7 separate regions of the Homo sapiens genome follow, and regions 1, 2, 3, 4, 5 and 6 are each linked to region 7. Evidence: promoter capture Hi-C in 16 types of primary human blood cells and fetal thymus (Javierre and others, 2016). All regions are on one chromosome and are shown on one strand. The core of a region is centred on a gene start or on the middle of the fragment in contact, and the rest is flanking DNA. Distances in the headings are between cores, read along the strand shown.

Region 1 (3,200 bases), core at 2-2,501, 490 kb before region 7:
GATTCTGGGGAGAAGTTTCAGGGTAAATCTTCCACTTATCCTGCATAGAAGCTGTGTGAAAGGCATAGACAGAAACCACTTAAGATTGTAACATGATGATAGAGGATTCCAGAAGGAGTTATGCGGTGAGTTTACCAATATGATAAATAGTACTGAGAGATTTCGATGATTCTGTTGAAGTGCTTGGGAAAAATTAATAAAGGAGATCAAAATACCAAAGGAGTAAAACAATTAGGCAATTGTCAACTCTAGGAAAATAATCAAAATTTATAGCTTTGTGGGTGCCACAGTGCCAGTGAGATTAGCTCTTTGGGGTTTCATTGTGGCTGACACATTTTGGACTATAATAGAGCATTTTGTCTGTGCTCTTTATATATATTCAGGTTGAGTATCCCTTATTAGAAATGCATAGAACCATAAGTATCTTGGATTTCAGATCTTTTTGGACTTTGAAATATTTACCTATACATAAGTGAGATATCTTTGAAATGAGACCCAAATCTAAACATAGGATTCATTAATGTTTCAAATACACCTTATACAGACAGCCTGAAGGTAATTTTATATAATATTTTTAATAATTTTGTGTATGAAACAAGGTTCTGACTGTGTTTTGACTGTAACTCATCACATAAGGTTAGGTGTGAAATTATCCACTTGTGACATCATGTTGCCATCAAAGAGTTTTGAATTTTGGTGCAGTATGGATTTCAAATTTTTAGACTAGGGATGCTTTATATGTAATACACACTTGACTTATGCTGTATGTTGTCTACCAAATAATTGGCAACATATTTCATTCTCAGTTCAAAATATTTATTTGTTCTTTCAACAGTCATTTAATGAGTTTCTTAAAGCACTAGAATTCCAGCTCAAGTTCTATAAGAGAGGACAAATAACAAATGTAATCAAGAGGAAAGAGAAGTTCAAGGTGATGTGGTTGCCAGATGTATGAATAACTGACTGCCAGGGTGGTCAGGGAGGGTTTCAGATAATTTAAAAAGTACTTTGTTCAAAACATATAAAATCAATATTTACTGTATTGATATGAATTCTATTTTTTCCCATAAAATCCAGAGAACATTCATGATATAAGATGGAAACCTAATTAGGTTTGGTCAACTTGGACTCAGTCAGGATTTCGAGTTGAATAGAATCATGGAGTAAGCAAAGTTCCATCCTGGAGGGATGACTCCTTATTTTGGTTCAGTATTTTACAAATCACTTTTATATCCACTCTCTCATTTAATTCTCACGATAATCCTGCAAATACTGTTATTCCTGTTTTATAAATGGGGCAGTTGAGAGCAAAACTATGTGATTTTTCCAGGTTTCAAGGCAGGATTTAAGGCCAGGTATTCATAATCTCAACCCTTTTACCTTCCTCGTAGTCACCTGTTTCATGCAAGCTCCCAACCTTCAGTATCATCCCTTCCCACCTACCCACCTAGCATTCCCAAATGTCAGAACTTATTCTGCCAGTCTGGAGGTCTCTACAAGAGAGCCCAGAATCAGCTGTTAACCCCTTCTGCCTCCACCTTCTCTGAAATTTGTCTCCCTGGCATTTATTTATTAAGAAAAAAGTAGTCAGAGTCATTTACAGAGACATCTTGGTAGTCTGAGAGGCTATTCCAGATGGGTATCTACTGAGAGAAATATTAAATGGCCCTGCAATTCTGTTTCTCCGCATATATTTTAACTGGTGTATGACAGATATAGTTCCCACTTAATATGTGTAAGACACTGTATTAAAAGCTGTATTCATGCATTATTAATTGTTTCCTTTAACAACTATTTATTGAGCACTAATTATATGCAAGGCACATTGCCAGATGCAAGGAACACCACGTTGTATAAGATAGGGTTCTTGTTTTTATTAAAATTTATAGTCTCATTTAATCTAACTTAATCTTTTAACTAGGCCCATCTCTATCAAGATGTATGCGTATTATTCCTATTTTACAAGTCCAAAAACTGAGCTTTGTAAAGGTAGACTGACCTGCATAGAGTAACATAAATAGTAAATAAATGTTGTAGTCCAAACTCAAACATAGCTGTATCTGATACAAAGCCATGTGCTCTTAAGAGCCAATCCTTGATAAGCATCTCAGAAAGATGACTGAAATAGCAAGATTTCCAGAAAATTAAAAAGAGTAAATAAGGGTGAGAATGCAGCAGGGCTCATCTTGATAGTAATAGTTACCATCTTGGCCTGCACATATTAGATATTCATCTAAGTCTTTTTTATAAATTATGTCCTCTAGTTCTTCAAGACAACCTCATGGTGTAGGTATCATAGATTTCATCCACAGGGTAGAAAATTAAGGTTCAGTGGGGTTAAACAATGTTTCCAAGTCAGACAGTAGGTAAGCAGCACATCTGGGACTCAGGTATAGGCCTCCATAACTCCAAATCCTTTGTTCTTAATTAGTAAGGCACACTGTCTTTTGAGTGAGAGATTTTGCTTTGAGACTTTTGCTCCATTCGTGTTGTTCTGCTTTGCCAGATTAAAGCTACCATGGGGCACACTCACTCTCTCTATATCCCTTCCTTAAGTTGTCTCAAACAGTGTGACATTCACCTGAGAGATGGGACAGGAGATTCCCACCTTAATCCTGGCCTGCCATGAGTGGGGTCCAGTCACTGGTAGAGTCACTTTTGCTCTCTGGGCCTCATCAGATTTTCAATCTGGTCACCAAGAGTCATGGCACCGGTGAGGAGAAATGTTTAGACTGTGACCTACTGATTAATGAAGCTGACGATCACACAGCCACCAGAAGCTTCTCACTCTTCAATTGAAGCAGGTAAAGACAGAGTCACTGTACTGTTCAGATACTTGGAAGGACACTGGAGGAAGTAACTTTCAGCATTTGTGTCAGGACATAAGGCCAGCAGCAGGAAAAGACACCACACTGGAAGGGAAGACACTGGGACCAGGATTGTTGGTAAGTAACGGGGAGGAAGACGGTGGGAACCAAGCACGGAAGGAGTATATGGAACTTACTGGATTATTTTTCCTAATAAAGTTTCTATTAAAAAATAGTTTTAAGCTTGAACAGCTAGCATACCTGGTAGCATATTTTTCTGGCTTCTGGGTGGGGACTAGAGTGAAGAAGAATTATCAACAATTAACAAGGCTCCCAAAAGCCATCTGTGCCCTTTGTCTTGTGAACAGCTCTTAACACAGAAATTACATGCTC
Region 2 (3,416 bases), core at 350-2,849, 470 kb before region 7:
TCCACATCCGCAACACCTGGCAACCACTAATCTGTTTTCCTTATCTTTAATTTTGTCAATTCAATAATGTTACATAAATGGAGTTATACTGTATGTAACCATTTGGGATTCGCTTTTTTTCACTCAGTATATTTCCCTTTTAATTGCTGAGTAATATTCCATGGTAAGAATGTATCACTGTCTGTTAGCCATTTGCCCATTGACAATTTGCAGTTTGTTTACAGTTTTGGGTTATTACACGTAAGTGTTATGAATATTTATGTATTGGTTTTTGTGTGAGCATAAGCTTTTATTCTATGGCATAAATGCCCAAGAACACAAATGCTGGGTTTACAGTGGTTGTATGTTTTATTTTATAAGAAATTGCCTACTATTTTCAAGAGTGGCTGTAACAGTTTACATTCCCAACAGCAATGTTTGATTCCAGTTTTTCTGAATTCTTGTCAGTATTTGATGATATCATAAACAAATTTTATCCATTATGACAGATATGTTATGACATCTTATTGTAGTTTAAATTTGCATGTCACTAGTGGCTACTGATGTTGAACATATTATCATGTGCTTATTTGCCATCTGTATATCCTCTTTGGTGGAATGTCTCTATTCATGCCTTCTGTTCGTTTCCTAATTGGATTTTTTTCTTTTACTGTTGAGTTTCAAGAGTTCTTTGACCTTACACCTTTACTGTGATTGGATACCTACGATATTTCTGGTGTGAGGCAATATTGCCTTATTCTTCTATGAACATTCTTATTCATGTCTTTGTTGAGTTTAAATTTACATTTATGTTAGTATACACATGAGAGTAGAATTGTGAGTCATAGATCTGCATGTGTTTATTATTGGTAAATATTGACAAATAGTTTCAAAGTGGTTGCACCAACTTTATACTTTCATCAGCTGCATATGAGAGCTCCTTGACAACATTTGTTAATGTCGTTTTTTAAGTATAACACTTTCTCTGGATGTGTAGTGGACCTCACTAGGTTTTAATTTTTACTTCTCTGCTGATTAACAATGTTGAGGACATTTCTCTTTTTTTGATCAGATGGATCGTCATCTTGTAAACTCTCTCAAAGACTTTTGCTTATTTATTTTTAAAAAAGTGGTATCTTCTCTACTGTATGAGTAATTTCTTCATCCTTTTAATGATGTCTTTTGATGAATAAAGTTTTTAAATTTTAATGAAGTAAATTTTATTAATCTTTTTATATAGTTAATGCTTTTTCTTCACAGCCAGTCTTGTACCTGCTTCTTTGAAAGTAATGTGTTTTTATTCTCTAACAACTTTTAAGATTTTTTTTCTCAGAAACATTGACTAATACCAAAATCTGTATTAGTCAGAGTTCTCTAGAGGGACATAACTAATAGGATAGATGTATACATAAAGGGGAGTTTATTAAGGAGTACTGACTCACACAATCACAAGGCGAGGTCCCACAATAGGCCATCTGCCAGCTGAAGAGCAAGGAAGCCAGTCCGAGTCTCAAGGCTGACAAACTTGGAGTCCAATATTCAAGGGCAAGAAGAGTCCAGCATGGGAGAAAGACATAGACCAGAAATCTAAACCAGTCTAAGTGACATTAGACATTTTCTTGAGTTTTCTTTCTGCAATTTTCTTTACGTAAGGATCTGAATACCTCAAATTTGGTTGACTAAGCGTCTTGAACTCCAATTTTTGGGGACATCCCATTCTAGCAAGACTACTTAAATTTCTCCTCCTGCTTTATGCACTGAAGCAAATTGACAAATTTCAGGAGGAAAAATAGTGGTGCTGATCTACAACTAACCTCAATGCCCTTTTTTTTTTCTTTTGGGATCATGGCTCCTTAAATCCTGTTTGCCTTGATTTCTCTCTAATGATTTCAAACCACTGCTTTTAAAAATCCAGGTTTTATAGTTGTCAGTCCCCATATGAGCAAAAAATAATAAAATTAAATTAAATTAAAATTAAAATCCAGGTTTTATAGTTGTTCTTAGTTGTAATACTAGTCAGATGCAAACTACTCCTTCATAGCTAGAAGCAAGATTATGATTATTGTTAATAATCAAATCATCTCAAATTTTGATAATGGGAGTCCAGTTAAGCTGGATTCTGGATCATTTTGATATGTACCCTCAATTCATGATACTCCTTTACTCTCTGCCACAACAAAATGTTTCAAGGTCACTTTGTACTTACTCTGCCAAAGACATAGATTCAGTTATATCTCTAAGGATTCCAGTTATTTGTAGTGAAAAATGATGTTTAGAAGCCAAGATCTGGGGAAAAAGTATACTTATCGCTACCAGAGTAACATTGCTTCTGAATCTTTCCATGGCTTAATTGCATGTATTTAATCATTAATGCTAACAAAAATTCAAATACAATACCATAGCATTTGTCCTTGCCTTTTCCTATTCCATATTTACCCTTTCTTTCATCCTACAGTACAAAAACCAGTGTTAAAATGTCTATACCAATGCCATCACCAATAAAACTTAATAAAGCTCACAATTTCTGTGCATTTCCTTTTTTCTTAGAACATTTTATTGAGTGTACCTTCAAAATATTATTTTCTCAGATTAAGTTTTTCTATATAAATATGTTATCAATCAACATAGAGGTAGGGTCACTTGTTTCTCTTTTGTGTTGAACTTTGTGGAACATATCAATGGAATCAAATGATTATTTACTTGAGAACTATTAATATAAGGATTTATATTAATATATTTCCTAATACTAATATAAGGATTTACATTAATAGATTTCTTAATATGAGTCTTTAATCTCCAGAGCAAATATGGTTTGGTGATGATGTATTATTTCCTTGACACCTTGTTGGCAGGTTTCATTTGCAAATACTTAGGATTCTTGAATCAATATTCATAAGGAAACATGATTTCCTAGTTTTGTGTGTGTGTCTTTGTCAAGCTTAGTTATCAATATTACATTTATTTCAAACTTTTTCTTATTTTATTTCTATGCTTTGGAACAATTTAAAAAAGAATGGTCTTTGAAGAATTGGTCAAATTTCCTACATAATCATCTAGTTTGAGTGATTTTTGAGCAGGTAGTTGTTTGAATTCTTTATCATTTTATACGTCAATCAGTTTGTTGAAACATTCTATTACAACCAGGGTCAATTATGATAAATAGTATTTTTGCATAGGATTTCAAATACATTTCCATAGGTTTACCTGTAATAATCTCATAAGTTTGTTCATTTCATTTTTAAGTTATTTCCCCTCTGCAGCATTTCATTTTGTAGATAATTAAATACTTTCACCTTTTATTCTTTGCATAATTACATAATAGTGGTTTGTTCATTTGGTAGTTTTACCCAAAGAGCCCTAATTGTATTACTTTGACTTTTTAATATATTTTATTAATTTATAATTTGAGTACAATAAAGTGTACCCATTCTAAGTGT
Region 3 (3,317 bases), core at 530-3,029, 370 kb before region 7:
AGTTTGATACAGCTGTTGAAAATAAATTAATGTAGTGAACTACTGCATACAATAGAAATATTGTGGTCTAGGAAAGATAGGTTAGAGTCCCATTATCCCATGCTCTGTTCAGTCTACATCTAGTATATTGTAAACAGATCTGGCCACTCCATTTAAACTGGCATACGGACAGATTACAGTGTCCAGGTAAGACAACCAGAATGGTAAGGGTTCCCAAAGCCAATTCACTTGAACAACAGCAGGAGTTCTTAATAAACAAGTCTTACAAAGAGTGAAAAGTCATTCTGTGCTGGGAATTTGTGAAAGCCAAATAAGAAAATAAATGTTGGAAACTTCCAAAATTTGAAAGTTTTAAACAAATGTTATATATTAACATTTTGAACATTCATGGCAAATAACAAAAGCTGACTTTCAATCTAGATGATGAACTCATTTACAAAGTTTCTGAATATTTTGGCCCTTTTGTAGACCTGAAATTTAGGCTTGCTACTATGCTCTTTAAGTTAGATTTAAAAATCTCTAACTACTATAAAGTCTGGTCAAAGCTTACTCCTGTTACACCCTAGACACCTCTGACCCATGCTAGACCTCCCAGTGACTTAAAAGAAAATACACTGTTGACAGAATAGAGGGGGATAATTATTTAATAACCTTATTTTCCTACTTTAATTTTTAGACCCACCAACTAGCAGAAACACAGTAAGTGAATGCAAGTTTTGATTATTTAAAGAGAGAACCAATGATGTATAATCTGACTTTTTTTCTTGTCCAAAATCTTCCCAGTTTACTACTCAGAAGAATAGCATAGAAAAAAAAGAGTGAAAAGTCAGGCTACTCAAAAGTAATCTTATTAGGGCTGTCTACTGAGGAGAGTCCACTGAGTTCTAGTCTTAGCTATTTTGAAATACACCTATGCTACCTCTACTACTTCCCCTCTCTGGGGCCTCATTTTTTCATCTAAATGTGGGAATGCCAAGAGATTAGTCCTGAGTCCTTTTCTCTTTTCTATCTATACTCATTCCCAAGGTAATCTCATTCCAAAGGGATCTTTAAATATTACCTATACATACATAACAACCAAACATATCTGCAGCCTGGACTTTTCTCCTGAACTGCAGAATCATACATAACTACTTACTTTACATCTGCTCTTAGATGTATAGTAACCTTTTAGACTTTAACATACAAAAAAAAGAATCTTGTATCTCTTACCCATTGATCCCTCTGTATCTCAGGACCCCATTCAAAAACTGCCAACTCTATTTATTTTATTTTATTTTTTTGAGATGGAGTCTTGCTCTGTCACCTAGGCTGAAGTACAGTGGCGCAATCTAGGCTCACTGCAACCTCCACCTCCTGGGTTCAAGCGATTCTCCTGACTCAGCCTCCTGAGTAGCGGGGACTACCGGTGTCTGCCACCATGCCTGGTTAATTTTTTGTGTTTTTAGTAGAAATGGGGTTTCTCCATGTTGGCCAGGCTGGTCGCAAACTCTTGACCTTAAGTGATTCCCCTCACCTCGGCCTCCCAAAGTGCTGGGATTACAGGCGTGAGCCACATCACCTGGCCGCCAATTCTATTCTTACAGTTGCTTAGGCCAAAAACTGTTGAGACATCCTTAAATCCTCACTTTCTGTCATTACCTTTACTTAAATTGCTAGGAAATCCTGTGTCTGAAGAACATTCATAAATACAAGGTAGAATTTGAGTACTTCTCACAATCTCATTCTTAAATATTGCAATAGCATCCCAGCTGATCTGCTTCCAACCTTTCTCACTATAATTCAGGTTCAACAAAACCACTGCAACGATCCTTTAGATCAAATTATATCACATCTCTGATCAAACCCAATGGCTTCTTGAACAGAAAATTCTGTCTCACAAAAATCCAAAATTCTTACAATTATCTAAAAACTCAACAGGACATCACCTCTCTGACCTCACCTCTATCACTCTGCTATTGCTCACTCTGCTCCATCTTCACTGGCTGCCTTGCTGTTCCAAAAATACAGCTGTCAATTCCTGCCAGAGTGCCTCTGCTCATGCTATACCCACTTCCTCGACCATTTTCTTTCCGTGATTTTATATGGCTCAATAGTGCTCATCTTTCAAATATTTACCTTAAAAACAACAACAACAACAAAAACACCCTCTTGATGAAACCTTCCCCGGTCACCCTGTCTAAAACTGCTTACTTCTCTTTTTACTCCTCCCTATATCCCACATGTTACATATGCCACGCAAGCTCCCCTGCTTTCATGTTCTGCTTAGCACTTATCTCCACCTGACAAACTATATATTACGTTTATTTACCATTTTATAACCTGTCTTTACTCACTTTAATGCAAGTTCCAAGGTGAGAGGGATTTTATCTATTTTGTCCACTGGTATAGCCCTAATGCCTAAAATAGTACCTGTAACATAGAGGTTCTCAATGATTATTTGAAGAATAAATGAATAGATAAAACCGTAAAATAAAGTACTTAGACCACAGGTTAAGTTAAACTGCTCGCCACATCTAATATTCTTGTGTTTCCATGCAAATGGTAGAGAAGATATATAATGGCATGCCACTTTGGGGGTTAAATATGGGTTTCAACTACTGTGGTAATGCTAGATCTCTTTCAACTCTGATAGTTTGCATTTACTGCTTGTGACTGTCCTTCTTTACAAAAATCTGAAACACAAAATCTAAACTTATTACCAGATGAAATAGAATGTGACAATAGTCTTCCAAAGAAACTCTTCCTTTTTAAAGAGACTCATCCAGGAAGAGCTACCATAACGAGCCTTTTGCGATGGTATTTAAAAATGGGATTTACAACATAATGTTTCAGAAACATATAGTATCCTGGCATCTCAATGCTGTCATTCCTCTTTCATTTTGAGAACCCCAGGGGAAATGAAAGCTAAATAATTTGTCTTACAGCTAACCAACAATTTTACTTACACTAGAAAATTCAAAGTGACTGGGAATTATGAAAGTTCTCAAGAGAGAACTTCTTTCCTCCGGAGCAAGCTTTGACAAGTAAAATTATTCTCAAAAAGTGACTCCACTTCATTTAGTTCAAGGAAATGGATTTACAAATCTTGAGCATTCTGTCATTGGCTTTTCTACATTATCCCTAGGGCTATTCCATCACTTTAGGATATCTCTGGACACCACAGGCTAACCCAGCCTTTGAGCACTCCCGTAGCATGTTAGGTCCACAGACAGGCTACAGAGGAGCTGCTGCTGCTCCTCACTTTTGCCTAATGGGATATTGATTTTCCCCCCAGTCTCAGCAGGCTTTCTCAAGAAATCAATACCTCGGTAGCA
Region 4 (3,160 bases), core at 344-2,843, 450 kb before region 7:
TGCTGTTTAAACAGGATACAGTCAAAAATTAGTCATCATGTGAAAAACAAGGAGAATCTCAACTTACATGGGAAAAAGCAATCAACAGATGCCAAGACTGAGATAGCACAGATGTTGAAATTATCTGACAAAGTCTATAAAGCAGGCATTATAAAATTGTCCCAATATGGAATTTTGAAACCTTTTGAAACAAAAAATAGAAAGTTTCAGCAAAGTATTAGAACCATAGGAATAACTAAATGACAGTTTAGAGCTAAAAAATATAATAACTAAATAAAGGGCTGGGCGCAGTGGCTCATGCCTGTAATCCTAGCACTTTCGGAGGCCGAGGCTGGTAGATCACCTGAGGTCAGGAGTTTGAGACCAGCCTGACCCACATGGCGAAACACCTTCTCTACTAAATACAAAAAATTAGCTGGGCATGGTGACTCATGCCTGTAATCCCAGCTACTTGGGAGGCTAAAGCAGGAGAATTGCTTGAACCAGGGAGGTGGAGGTTGCAGTGAGCTAAGATTGCACCATTGCACCCCAGCCTGGGCAGCAAGAGCGAAACTCCGCCTCAAAATAAATAAATAATAAAAGAATAAACAACTCACCTGTTGGGGTTGACAGTGAAATAGAGATGAATAGAGAATAGAAGAAAGAGTCAGAAAACTTTTAGATAGATCAGTAGAACTTCTCCAGCCTGAATAACAGAAAAAAAAGAGATTAAAATATGTAACAGTCTCAGAGATCTATAGGTCAAAAGCAAGATGTCTAATATTTATGCTGTCCGTCCCAAAAAGTGAAGAGGAAGAGTTTGGTGCTGAAAATATAGTTGAATTAATAATGCCTGAAAACCTTCCAAATATTTTGGTATACGGCCCTATGAAATTTAATGTATGCATTGAATCATATAAAAACCACTACAAAAAGGTAACAATAGAACTGGATTTCAACCCTAGGTCTTTTTCACTCAAAAGCTTACTTAGGTCTTGTTCATATGCTTCCTTAGGTCTGTATTTGAATTTTATCAAATAGATACTCTCTTTTTTAAAATGTGAAGAAAAAAGTATCTCATAATTTCCTCCATTCTCAAAAGTTCCTGACATTGAACTATCAATGCTACATTAATGACTATGCTCCTGGCAGTTTCCCTCAAAGCTGTTTTCTAATAGATGAAAATCTTCAGTGACCTAGAAGAAATTGAGGCCACCTTTGACAGCAAGGAATCTTTCAGTTTGTGGAGTCTCTTTACTTGCTGGGCATTTGGCTGACCAAAAATAAAAAGTGGGGTGGAGGTTAATACAAATTTTTATACCTCTCATTACTGCCTCCCAGGGCAGAAGGAAAAAATTTCATATATATATATATATATATATATATATATATATATATATATAAATTATATATATGATATATATGATATATATGTTATATATATGTTGTGTGTGTATATATAATATATATACACATATATATGGAATATATATAATATATACATATATGGAATATATATATTATATATATACACATATATATGGAATATATATTATATATATACACATATATATGGAATATATATATTATATATACAATATATATGGAATATATATATACACACATATATATGGAATATATATATACACACATATATATGGAATATATATATACACACATATATATGGAATATATATATACACACATATATATGGAATATATATATACACACACATATATATGGAATATATATATACACACATATATATGGAATATATATATACACACACATATATATGGAATATATATATACACACACATATATATGGAATATATATATATACACACACATATATATGGAATATATATATATACACACACATATATATGGAATATATATATATACACACATATATATGGAATATATATATATACACACATATATATGGAATATATATATATATTCCATGCCTTCTGTTCATGTCCTGGAAAATTATCAGATGAACATGAAAGTCATCAGACAGCTGTGCGTCCAGTGAGAAAGATGCATTTATAAAAACCAATAGGAGCTTCTCTCATAATGGGAAATAAAAGTTAAAACCAAATAAAATCAGGAGGTTGGGGCCATGAGACAAAAAGCAGAAAATTTAAATGAATTTTATCAAAAGCCTTGATACGCAGTGACTTGCCAAGGACAAATAGCTACTTTAGTTCTTAACCAGGTGCACTGTTAGGAGAAAGGACTTAAGCTTTTTTTTTTTTTTTATTTTTTCCTCATAGCAAAGTCACTGGCCAGGTGGAAAAGAAAATGTTTGAATGAATAAGATGAGAAAGGCATTCTTACTTATGTCATTGCTGCTCATACAGCAAGAAAAGATCATGCAGCATGTAGTGTAAAGAGTACAAATTTTGAAACCAGATAGAATTTTTTGCACATCTCACATTTTCCTTTTAACTTGTATGTGAACTTGCCAAGTCATTAAACCTGCCTTGATCTCATGTTCACGAACTGCGAAGAATGAAGATGTTATGCCCGCATCACCTGACTGTTGTAAGGATTAATGCATATAAAGCACACACCCAGCCACATCTCTAAGAACTTAGCTATTATGAAGAATAAGAGATAGAAACTCAAGTCTGAATGACAGATAACATTTTTCTTGCATGTAGAGTAACAGTCCCTCTAACTGGCCTTCCATCTTCATCTTGTTTTTTTGAGGCTTGAAGAACCAGGCTAGGATGAACCAGGTCTCCTTGACTTGACAACATTTCTGGGTAGTTTTCTGCATTCTAACAGCCTCAAGTTTTATGTATAAGATGGAAAAATAAAACATGTAATACTTCAATTAACTTTGACACACCTCAGTGAAGCAATTAAGTAACTTGGAGTATTAGTTTGAATTTTAGCAAAAAACCCAAAGGGAAGCAAATATTAACCTGGGAATGCGCCCAACATGGTTTTAATGCTGAGAACTGTATAGCTGATTCAGCTCATCTGGGATTTAGTAAGCTTCTACTGGATGTGACATAATCTCTGTCTTCCAACTGCCTAAACCAAATCCAAGGAGTCAGAAATCTCACTAGATATTCCAGTGTGATAAATCCAGTAATGGAAAGATATACAAGGGACATTAAGGAGGCCACTAACTTTGTTCAGGGTGATAGATGTGCTTCACAGGGA
Region 5 (3,197 bases), core at 98-2,597, 390 kb before region 7:
GTAGAAGGCCTCTTTTTCTAGGTCAGAGTTTCCAAAGAATTTGGGGATTCAAGACTCTTAAGGATATGTACCCACATATCTCATCCTCTATCTCAGGATCCTGCAGAGTTGTAAGAGGCCAAGCTGACAGAGCTACCACGTTTCCTCCACTAAAGTCAAGACCCTTACAGGAAAATAGCAGGATCCTGATAAACCTCGTCTCTATTAAAAATACAAAAATTAGCTGGGCGTGGTGGCACATGCCTGTAGTCCCAGCTACTCAGGAGGCTGAGGCAGGAGAATCGCTTGAACCCAGGAGGTGGAAGTTGCAGTGAGCTGAGATCGCGCCACTGCACTCCAGCCTGGTGACATAGCAAGACTCCGTCTCAACAACAACAACAACAACAAAATATATATATATATATATGTATATACGACTCCTGTGAGTGTATTACAAATATTAATATGAAATAATGACATTAAAAAATAATAGCTACCTGCACGTGTCAGCACCACAACCACTGTGTAAACCAAGGTGTCACAATGCATATTTTATTGTTTCTTTTTATGTTGATTGATCTGGCACCTTTCTTAATCAGAATCTATGAGGACATATTCCTCTGATTAACTAAAAATATGTATATGCACTGTACACTCTGTAGCCTAAATGTCAATATGAACAGTAAATGCAGATGGCATAGACTCATCCCAGTTTTAATAGTGTCCAGCAGTTTCTTTAAGCATACATTTCTCATCTCCTCCTTGAAATAAAATTTTAGAAATGGATCTTGAGAACCCTGTTTACTTTGTCCGAAAAAAAAAAAAATCCCTTCACAACACTAAGAAACTTAAAGCACTTTCATAAATAGGGAAACAGCATCTTTTAATGTTTTATTGTTCACTTGCAAAAATATATATAATATATATTACATGTATAGCATGTATAGAGGAGCCCCACAGCTTGAGTCAGAGAAAGCTAACAGAAAGGCACATATGGAGGCATGTCTTTTCATACAATATTCAGTTAAGCCAACATTCAGGCCATGGCAAGTGACAGTTAGGACAAGGACAATATAGCACACCTGTGTTCACGATTCCAAAGAGCTAACTCAGAGGCAACTCTTAGGTCTGCCGAGAATGGAGGTCATCTTGGGAGAAAATATCACATCTACTTAATAGGCCTGTCAGGCCATCAGAGAATATACTGAAATCTGGAAAAAGACACCAGGGCAAGGTGAAAGCCAGTCCTTGACTTGACAGCTAGTTTGTTCTTCTCCCCTTTTATTTTAAGACTTGAGGCCTTTGCTGATTAAAAGAAGCAAATAACAGTGCCGACTGTGGCCCTGCAGGATTTTGGTCAGCTACATGACAGAAGTTTGTAACAGACTAAATATTTTCAAAAGTTTGTAAACACTGTGATGATGGTGAGGAAAGCATAGAAAGAACATTTGCTATTTCTCTCTCACTGAAAAAACAGAGGCATAGATCTTTGGCTTGCCACATGTGGTATCTCTATCCTGACGTTTACCCAAAATGGTAAAAATAGAGGCACAATTTGTGGAACAATGAGGTCATTCCTACCAGACACCAGCAAAGGTGCCTACTAGGATTTGGCACAGCCAGAGCAGCTGGCAACCTTGGTTGATGTGAGATGGGGCTTCACGACGTCCGGCTCAATAGACTCCATTAGGTCACACTCATTTGCAAGTATGTGTTTCACCAGGCATCTGGAGGCTTCATCAATGTTTATATTTTCCTATGAGGGAAAAAATAAAACAGCTTTTCTTATTCAATACTCTGAAATAATGCTAGAGCAGAGACTTATATGTGACAATTCATTTAAATATTCCTTCCTATATGCTACATATGCATCCCCCTCCTGTTTCCCTCACTCTTATTTGTTCCTTCAAAGAACTTTACTGTTTGGTTCCTCAAAAAAGAAGTATTTATTTTGCTATGTCATATAGGAGGAATGGTGTCTGGTAAATGTACTTAGTAGGTTAAATTTCAGTTAGAGGGCAATTTTCTTATTTTCACATTTTCACATACTCAAACTATAAAAATATTGTAGAAGAAACATAAACCTTTAATCTGACTTAGATTTATAATTGCCCTCTGCCACATACTATTTTTGTGACCTTGATATAAAATAAGAATGATAAGACATCTTTTATAGTATGCATTAATGGTTTCACAGATATTTCTGGGTCTCTATATTCTAGTGAAATGGGGAAGAGTACACTGTTCTGACCTCTTTGAACTTAGCCATGGACATGTGACTTGTTGGGCGTCAAAATGTGAGAAGTAATGTGTGTCACTTTCATATAGGAGCAATAAGAGCCAGTGCTCAGTTTCCTGTTTTTTCTGTTTCTCCCTGTGGAAGCACAGCAATGGAAACTCTTTTGGATAAGGTCTGTGAGTGAGAATCAAGTAGAGGCAAGTATCCCAATCAGCCCATGCTATGTAGTGTGCATGAGAATGATGATCTTTGCTATTTTAACCCACTGAGATTTGAGGTTATTACCCCAAATAAACCCTGGCATTATCTAGACATTCCAGATGGATATAACTCCTCAAGGAAAAAAGTAAAACTGGAAATATAAGTTTAGGTTCAAAAATGAAATAAACTTGAATTTGGAAAAAATATGGAGCAAACATTTGAATCTAAAATATGTCAGTAGTATAAGTTAAACTGCTTTTTTTGTTCCTGCTGGTCAGAAACCTAAGACATATAGAAAATATACTACCAGTGTACTAAAATAAATATCTTTGATTAGGTAAAAAGTAGTTAAAGATCTGCAATAAAGTTAAATTTGATTGTTTTTAATCACAATTTGTAGAACTTCTTTGATGTATTTCTTCATACTTAAAGAGACAAGGCTTTCTCGTTGTTAAAATGTTTTACTACAGAACCTTGTTGTCCAATCTGAAGTGGAAATACTTATCCCTGATTTTTGCATGTATGTCAAAGTTGTTGATATATTTTGAGATCATTGAATGGAGTCATATTACTTGGAAAATATAAGAAGTACTGTTGGCTTCCAAATGGCATCCATGACTAATGACCTTAGTTGTAAATGTTTATTAGCAGGTTCTCCATCCTTCAAGCCTGAAACTGAGTTCACCAGCTATGAAAGCTTAAGGTAACTTTGGAGTTCCAGACAAGTATAGCCTAATTATTTATCTCCTCTCTAGAGAGCCTTAAAGAAAATGTTTCC
Region 6 (3,390 bases), core at 777-3,276, 420 kb before region 7:
TAAAAAACAATAGAGAAAACAAATGAGACCAAAACTTCTTTGAAAATATCAATAAAATAGATAAATCTCTGGTTAAACTGGAAGAGAGAAGAAACAAAACAGTAATATCTGAACCAAAGGAGGAAACAGCATTATAAGTCCAACAGACATTATCAGAATAATAAGCAATTATTATTCAAAAATGTCAAAAAGATGATAGCTAGATGAAATGGACAGATTGCTTGAATCACACAAAGTATCATAGCTCGTGTAAGGAAAATGATATTCTCAATAGTTCTATATTATTTAAGAACTCCAATTTTAAGTAAAAATCTACCCATAAGGAACTCTTCTAGCCCAAACAAACTTACTAGCAAATTACACCAAAATTTTAGTACCAATTGTACACAAACTCTTCTAAGAATTTGAAGAAGATGGAATACTGGTCACCTGATATTATGAAACCATCATTTCCCTGATATCAAAACTATTACAAGAAAAGAAAACTATCTACTGACATTGCTCATGGAAATAGATGCAATAATATTAAGAAAATATGTACAAACCAAACCTAGTAATATAAAAAATGTAATACATCATTAGCAAATGGAGTTTATCCCAGGAATGCAAAGCTAGTTCAACATGTGCAAATCAATCTAAGTAATTCACCACATAAACATCATAAAAAAGAAAAAAAATATAGTAATCTCGGTAGATGCACAAAAATCATTTGAAAGAATTGAATTCTCATTTAAGATAAAAACTCTTAATACACTAGGAATAATGGGTTATTCCTAAATCTGATGGCAGGCATCTAACAAAAACCTTTACCTAATATTATATTTAATGGAAACAAAGCAAATACTTTTTCCCTAAGACTGAGAACAAGATAGGAATATATACTATCATTATTTCTAATTAACATTTTACATGAGATACTAGACAGTTCAATAAATAAAAAAACAAAAATAAAGATATATAGATAGGAAATGGAGAAATAAAACTGTCTGTATCAGCTGATGGCATTTCCATACATAGAAAAAATCCCAAGGAATCTATCAAAAGCTTCTACAAGTAAAGAGTGAGCTTCTCAGTGTTTCAGGATACAAGGTCAATATATAAAAACAAAACAAAACAAAAAAATTATTCATTCGCTAGCTACACACAATTAGAAATTTAACTTTTAAAATATTACAACGATGTAAAAAGTAAAGATAAATCCAATAATAAATATGCAACATTCATAAGGCTCTAAACTACTACATGAAGAAAAATATTGATGAAAAAAGTGTTTAAAAGATCCAAATAAAAGGTGATATATATACTGTATGTATTAATTGGACTACTCAACATTGTTAGGGTATGAGTTCTTCTCCAACTGATCTATGGATCTGATGCAAGCCGAATCAAAATTGTAGCACATTCTTTGAGAAAGTGACAAACAGATTCTAACATTTAAATAGAAAAAAGAAGGATCCAGAATACTCCAAACAATTAAAAAAAAAGTTGGAAAACCCACGTAAACTGATTTTAAGACTCAATTTGAAGTTGCAATAAACATCACAGTAGTATGTTTGTGTACAGATAGATTTTTACATCAAGTGAACACAAGACGAAGTCCAAAAACTTAGCACCTCGCCCCTGATACCCAAGTGTGGTTAATTAATAAAATAACTTAATGGAGAATCATTTTTCCATCAAGGCAGCATTTGGTGGTTTGATGAGCAATTTAGCATGGAAGGAAGGAAGGAAGGAAGGAGGGAGGGAGGGAGGGAGGGAGGAAGAGAAAGAAAAGAAAGAAGAAAATAAAATAATAATGAAAGAAAGATAACAAAGCCATCTTAAACCCTACCTGCCAACATACTTACAACTCAATAGGAAACAAACAAACAAATAAAAGTTGGACAAAATATTTTAAGACACTATATAAAAAATACTCATTTAAAGATTCTCATAATTAATCATTAGAAAAACAGAAAATAACACCACTACACATTAACTACAATGGCTAAAACAAAATAAAAGACACAAAATTTACAATATCAAATGATGACAAATGTGCAAAACAATTGAAACAGTCATATATTGTTGGTTGAAATGAAAAGTAGTATAATCACTATGGAAAAAGTTTGGAAGTTTCTTAGAAATTGAAACATAGCTTTGTTATACTACCCAGCAATCCCACTCTAAGTATTTACACAAGAGAAATAAAAATGTATGTCCACACAAAGACCTGTATATTAATGTTTATAGAAGCTGTGTTAGTTTTCTACAGCTGACATAACACATACTCCAAACCTGACAACTTAAAACAACAGAAATTTTTTGTCTCATAGTTATAGATGCCAGAAGTTATGGATGTTAAGGTGCTGACAGGGTTGGCTCCTCCTGGAAGCTCTAAGGAAGAATCCATTCTATTCCTATCTGCTAGCTTCTGGTGGCTATTGGTAATCCTTAGTTAGCATTCCTTGGCTTGTGACACATTATTGAATCTCTGCATCCATCTTTACATAGCCTTCTCCCCTCTGTGTCGCTGTGTGTTTGCTCCTTCTGTATTTCATAGAAGGACATCCATCATTGACTCACAACCCGCCCTAATTCAAGATGGTCTTGTTTCAAGAGTCTTACCTTAATTATATCTGCAAAGACCCTTTTTCCAATTAAGGTCACATTCTGAAGTTCCAGGTGGACATACCTTTTGGAACGCCACATTCAACCCTCTGTAGCAGCTTTGTTCATAAAAACCAAAATCTGGAAAAGCCCAATATCCTTCAACTGGTGAAGGGATAAAAAAAGTTGCAGTATACCTTACTACTTGGCAATAGAGCAGAATGAACTACTAATACATGTAACAAAAAGGATATATCAGAAAGGCCTTATGCTAAGTGAAAAATTCCAAACACAGAAACCTAGATATGCTATGATTTCATTTACGTTGCATCCGAAAAAGGCTCAAAATTAATTTCTAAGACAAAAATCAGATCGGTAGTTGCCAGGGATTGGGATGAGAGATGGAAATTGACACAAGAGCAAGCTTTCTGGGGTGATGAAAATGATCAATAATAGAATTGTTTTGGTAGTTACATATCTATATATTTGCCAATGTTCATAATAGTTTAGACCAATCAATGCTCAAGCTAAGGAGAGTCTACTAAATTAAATAAGCAATGAGAAGATACTGAAATTTTGAGCAAAAATGTTAATCATCTTAATATATTAGAAAGAAAAAAAAATATTTGTAGGATGATTCAGGACATGCAAAGCCAAAAAGGAAGGAGATCAATTTTAGGAGTCTGAGCAGAAAATGTCAGCCTGGATGCCTCCTGTGGCAGAGGCATTGGGAAGTAAACACTGTCAGGAGACAAAACCACCCAGATATCTAATAGGAACCTCAAATTTAACATAGCTAAA
Region 7 (3,291 bases), core at 341-2,840:
ACATAATAACCTAAAAGTAATAAACAGAGTGAGATGTAATAACTGATTCTGAGTTTTAAAATACTGTGAGAGAAAATGTAAATACCAAGCTTTTGCTTAAGGAGATAACTTCATTAATATAATTCTGCCTATCTATGTGCTTACCTACCTTTCTGCCTAGCTATCATACAAAGTAAATATTTGCAAATTGTTTATGTTCTAAAACTGATCATTCATGTACAGCATAACCAAAAACTTGGCCAGCATTCAGCAGCAATTATAACAGAGGAAAAGCATTCTCTCTGTGGTGTTCAATATCAATTTACTAAGTTGTCCTTGATAGACAGTTCCAAGGTTGCATATGAGTTCAAACCTCAATAGGTTTCCTCCAGGATATATGCTTTAAGTTGGACAGGAACTTGTTAAGCTCCACAAATAACATTGATATAACAAATTTAAGCTTCCTGCTGAATATTAACTGTATACTAAATACTACATTGACACTAATAATAGCTACTATTGAGCATTTATCAGGAATGTTGAAATGATAGAAACTTCACAGATTATTGTAACTCACTTCTGCATTTAAAGCAAGAGGAACAAGTTGTAGAGAAATCAGAGTGATTTATCCAAAGTCAGTTGGTGACAGGTAAGAGATCCTGGCTTTTAATTCAATGCTATTTCTATTGCATCCGCTGGTTTTAAATGGCCTTCCATAATTTGATGGAGTCTGATAAGGCTCTTTGGATTTTTAGAAGGTAATTTCCTGTACCTGGTTTGTATATGTCACTTCATCCTCAATTTTATGTGAACATATTACCATTCATATCACGTTAGAATAAAAGATACTGAAGGGAAGAGTCTGACAAAACAGATAAAATGGCTTTCTTTGTTAAGATCAAACACATTCTGTATAATATATGTATCTACATATGTATATATATCATTATGCATTTAATACAATGTCAGAAGCATAAATCAAATATATTTTTAAATATACCTTGTTTTTCTCTTCCATACATCAAGCATCTACCTTATATTCTGCTGTTAGTTTTTCACTAATTTGTGTCCAGGGAATGTATATTTGCTCAAGAATCAGTCAAAGTAAAACTTTTTTTTTTTCTGGAAAAATTATGTAATATGCACATACATCTACACACAAACACACATATACACAGAGACACATGCAGATGGACTCAAAAGTCAAATGTCTATATAAATATGTATGTTTGTAAACACACATCTATACACACACAAATAATCTATTTTATCTGTGTGATGTTACCTCTATCAACACATATAATTATGAAACTATTTCTATAATTTGTATGTCTAGATGCATAAACAATGCATATTTCCTATATATTTTTTTAAGTACTTCTTTATGTAACAGTTGTTTGTAGATGTGTTTGGGGACAACATCTCTGGTTGGTTTGTGGTTGGTTTATATTTTCATTTAAATCTATACAGTCCACTGCTTACTTTGTAAACCCCATAATTCAAATGTATAGATCATCCAGTATTCAAGATTAATTAGTATCATGGCTCTTTTCATCTCAGAAAACACTATTAAGACAACATTCTAAACATTTGAGGGGAATAATCTTAAAATCATATTATAGGTTTTTTAATTTTTTTGAAAAGTAACTGGCTTCACAAACACCAAGTACAACATGATTTAGACAACTGAGAAACAGGCAAGTATATTTTGAAGTGCTAAAATAAAACATATTTATACAAGTACAAAGCAAAACAATGCTGATAAAAATGTTAAACTTTATGAAAAAAAATCATTTGCAGTTCACATCAAAATAATTTAACATTCTCTATTATTTTAATAGTACAAGCTGCCACAACAGAGAAAGAACAGATACACGCACACAATTTTAAAACCAAATCAGTTATAAGTGCAGAAAAAAGTAAGTACAAGCACTTTTAGCCCACACAAATCTTTTAGGATTGGCACCATCTTTCTAAAACATCTATAATCTATATAGATTTCTAATTACAACACCATCAGCAGCTGCCATTGATTTCTAGAAATACACACAATATACATAGTATATTTGTTCACATTGGGAAGATCAGTGAAATTCAACCAACTATTTTATACATGCCTCATTCTTCAATAGACAGTAGAGACTCTCCCAGGCCTCAGACCCTCTTCAAAGTGAATTCTGACTTGTCTTTATGCTTTCACTGATCTGTATTTTTTCACAGTATAAAATTGTAAATGGTAACTATAGAGATTCTGACAGCTTGAGGGTTATTAATAAGCTGTTGCTAAATGTGAACTCACATAATACCTTTGAAGTCTCCAAAACATGTACATTTTACTGGGAGACTAGCATAGGAAATGCTTTTGTTTTTTGTTATTCTTAAAAAGAGCATTTAATTCCTGGCTTGGAAGTCACAGAACTGCAGCAGAGCTATTATACAATTCATTTACAGTCAGAAATAGCTCCTAGTCTTCCTGATCACTTGCTGGTAACAGCAGTAGTTTGGGAAAGATAGTTACTTTCAAGGATTAGCACGTTTGGGGATTTGCTTTTTTTCCTTGCTTCAGTCAAATCTCTTATAATTTTTCTTTCCATACTCCCTTTCTGTTCCCCATCCCTAGCCCAGAAAGACGGTTCTTCCCAATCCAGATATGTTCTTCTTAGGCTGCCCCCACTCCTTTCCCAAAATGGAAGGATGAGTGGACTGCTTAGATTAGTCAGTATAACTTGGTTAAACCACGTCTTCTTCTTTCCATCCTGGGACATATCTCTCATTTAGGGTCACTTTGCTGAGCCTTAGCATATCCCCTTCCTTTTAGTCATGCTGGTCCCGACTGAATTATCACTGGGCACCAGGAACAGATTGTTTTGAAGGAAATTCAATGAGAATGTACCCAAATGAATTGTGAAGTTCATATCCTATAGCCCTAGAATGAATATTCAGTTCTCTTTGTACTGTAGAGTTATTACTTGGAACCTGGTATTAGAATTGGCAAAGAGACAGAGTTAGCATCATTCCAAAATAAAAGATCTCAAGAATGCATTACTAATAATCTTATGTCCAACATACAATGTATTCAATGGAGTGGCAAAAGTTATAGAAATACAGAGAAAAATATATCTTGTCCTTTTCTAATTGGATAAATCATTTTTATTATTACAGTTGATTATGATAGCATGTGGAAGTATCAGATGGCAATTTACTTGCATTAAATTTAATTTCTGATGAAGTTTTTTATAAGGTAGTGTGCTTTTTAAGAGATATGTTACTAAAAAAATAGAAAATGAATTTGACCATGAACAAAGTTTAAAC

What was found. Contacts are between HindIII fragments. The CHiCAGO score rates a contact against its expected background, and 5 or more counts as called.
Region 1: a contact is called between a fragment that was not itself captured here and the fragment with the promoter of GRM5-AS1 in region 7, in 8 of 17 cell types (monocytes, non-activated CD4 T cells, M2 macrophages and 5 more). The highest score is 8.5, in monocytes.
Region 2: a fragment that was not itself captured here is called in contact with the fragment with the promoter of GRM5-AS1 in region 7 in 11 of 17 cell types (naive CD8 T cells, non-activated CD4 T cells, activated CD4 T cells and 8 more); the score reaches 8.5 in naive CD8 T cells.
Region 3: a contact is called between a fragment that was not itself captured here and the fragment with the promoter of GRM5-AS1 in region 7, in 5 of 17 cell types (neutrophils, total CD4 T cells, total B cells and 2 more). The highest score is 8.6, in neutrophils.
Region 4: a fragment that was not itself captured here is called in contact with the fragment with the promoter of GRM5-AS1 in region 7 in 4 of 17 cell types (erythroblasts, monocytes, neutrophils and 1 more); the score reaches 6.6 in erythroblasts.
Region 5: a contact is called between a fragment that was not itself captured here and the fragment with the promoter of GRM5-AS1 in region 7, in 11 of 17 cell types (naive CD8 T cells, activated CD4 T cells, neutrophils and 8 more). The highest score is 9.5, in naive CD8 T cells.
Region 6: a contact is called between a fragment that was not itself captured here and the fragment with the promoter of GRM5-AS1 in region 7, in 4 of 17 cell types (total B cells, activated CD4 T cells, total CD4 T cells and 1 more). The highest score is 8.1, in total B cells.

What each region holds. Positions count from the first base shown.
Region 1 is chr11:88,009,452-88,012,651 of GRCh38, forward strand. It overlaps a transcript of RAB38 not described here. Among named protein-coding and RNA genes, the nearest start is that of RAB38, 160 kb to the right of the region's middle. The HindIII fragment of the contact is 3,053 bases long and covers 1-2,778 here.
Region 2 is chr11:88,034,059-88,037,474 of GRCh38, forward strand. It overlaps a transcript of RAB38 not described here. Among named protein-coding and RNA genes, the nearest start is that of RAB38, 140 kb to the right of the region's middle. The HindIII fragment of the contact is 2,631 bases long and covers 285-2,915 here.
Region 3 is chr11:88,132,976-88,136,292 of GRCh38, forward strand. All of the region lies in intron 2 of RAB38 (RAB38, member RAS oncogene family), which reads right to left. Among named protein-coding and RNA genes, the nearest start is that of RAB38, 41 kb to the right of the region's middle. The HindIII fragment of the contact is 2,472 bases long and covers 544-3,015 here.
Region 4 is chr11:88,051,563-88,054,722 of GRCh38, forward strand. It overlaps a transcript of RAB38 not described here. Among named protein-coding and RNA genes, the nearest start is that of RAB38, 120 kb to the right of the region's middle. The HindIII fragment of the contact is 1,266 bases long and covers 961-2,226 here.
Region 5 is chr11:88,112,406-88,115,602 of GRCh38, forward strand. It overlaps RAB38 (RAB38, member RAS oncogene family), which reads right to left. Exons shown (of 3, transcript NM_022337.3): 3 at 846-1,735. The coding sequence ends at 1,583. Among named protein-coding and RNA genes, the nearest start is that of RAB38, 61 kb to the right of the region's middle. The HindIII fragment of the contact is 3,533 bases long and covers 1-3,114 here.
Region 6 is chr11:88,079,119-88,082,508 of GRCh38, forward strand. It overlaps a transcript of RAB38 not described here. Among named protein-coding and RNA genes, the nearest start is that of RAB38, 95 kb to the right of the region's middle. The HindIII fragment of the contact is 1,969 bases long and covers 1,043-3,011 here.
Region 7 is chr11:88,502,986-88,506,276 of GRCh38, forward strand. It overlaps GRM5-AS1 (GRM5 antisense RNA 1), which reads left to right and starts at 1,591. Exons shown (of 6, transcript NR_049724.1): 1 at 1,591-3,291. GRM5 (glutamate metabotropic receptor 5) reads right to left here. Exons shown (of 10, transcript NM_001143831.3): 10 at 1,657-3,291. The HindIII fragment of the contact is 8,959 bases long and covers 438-3,291 here.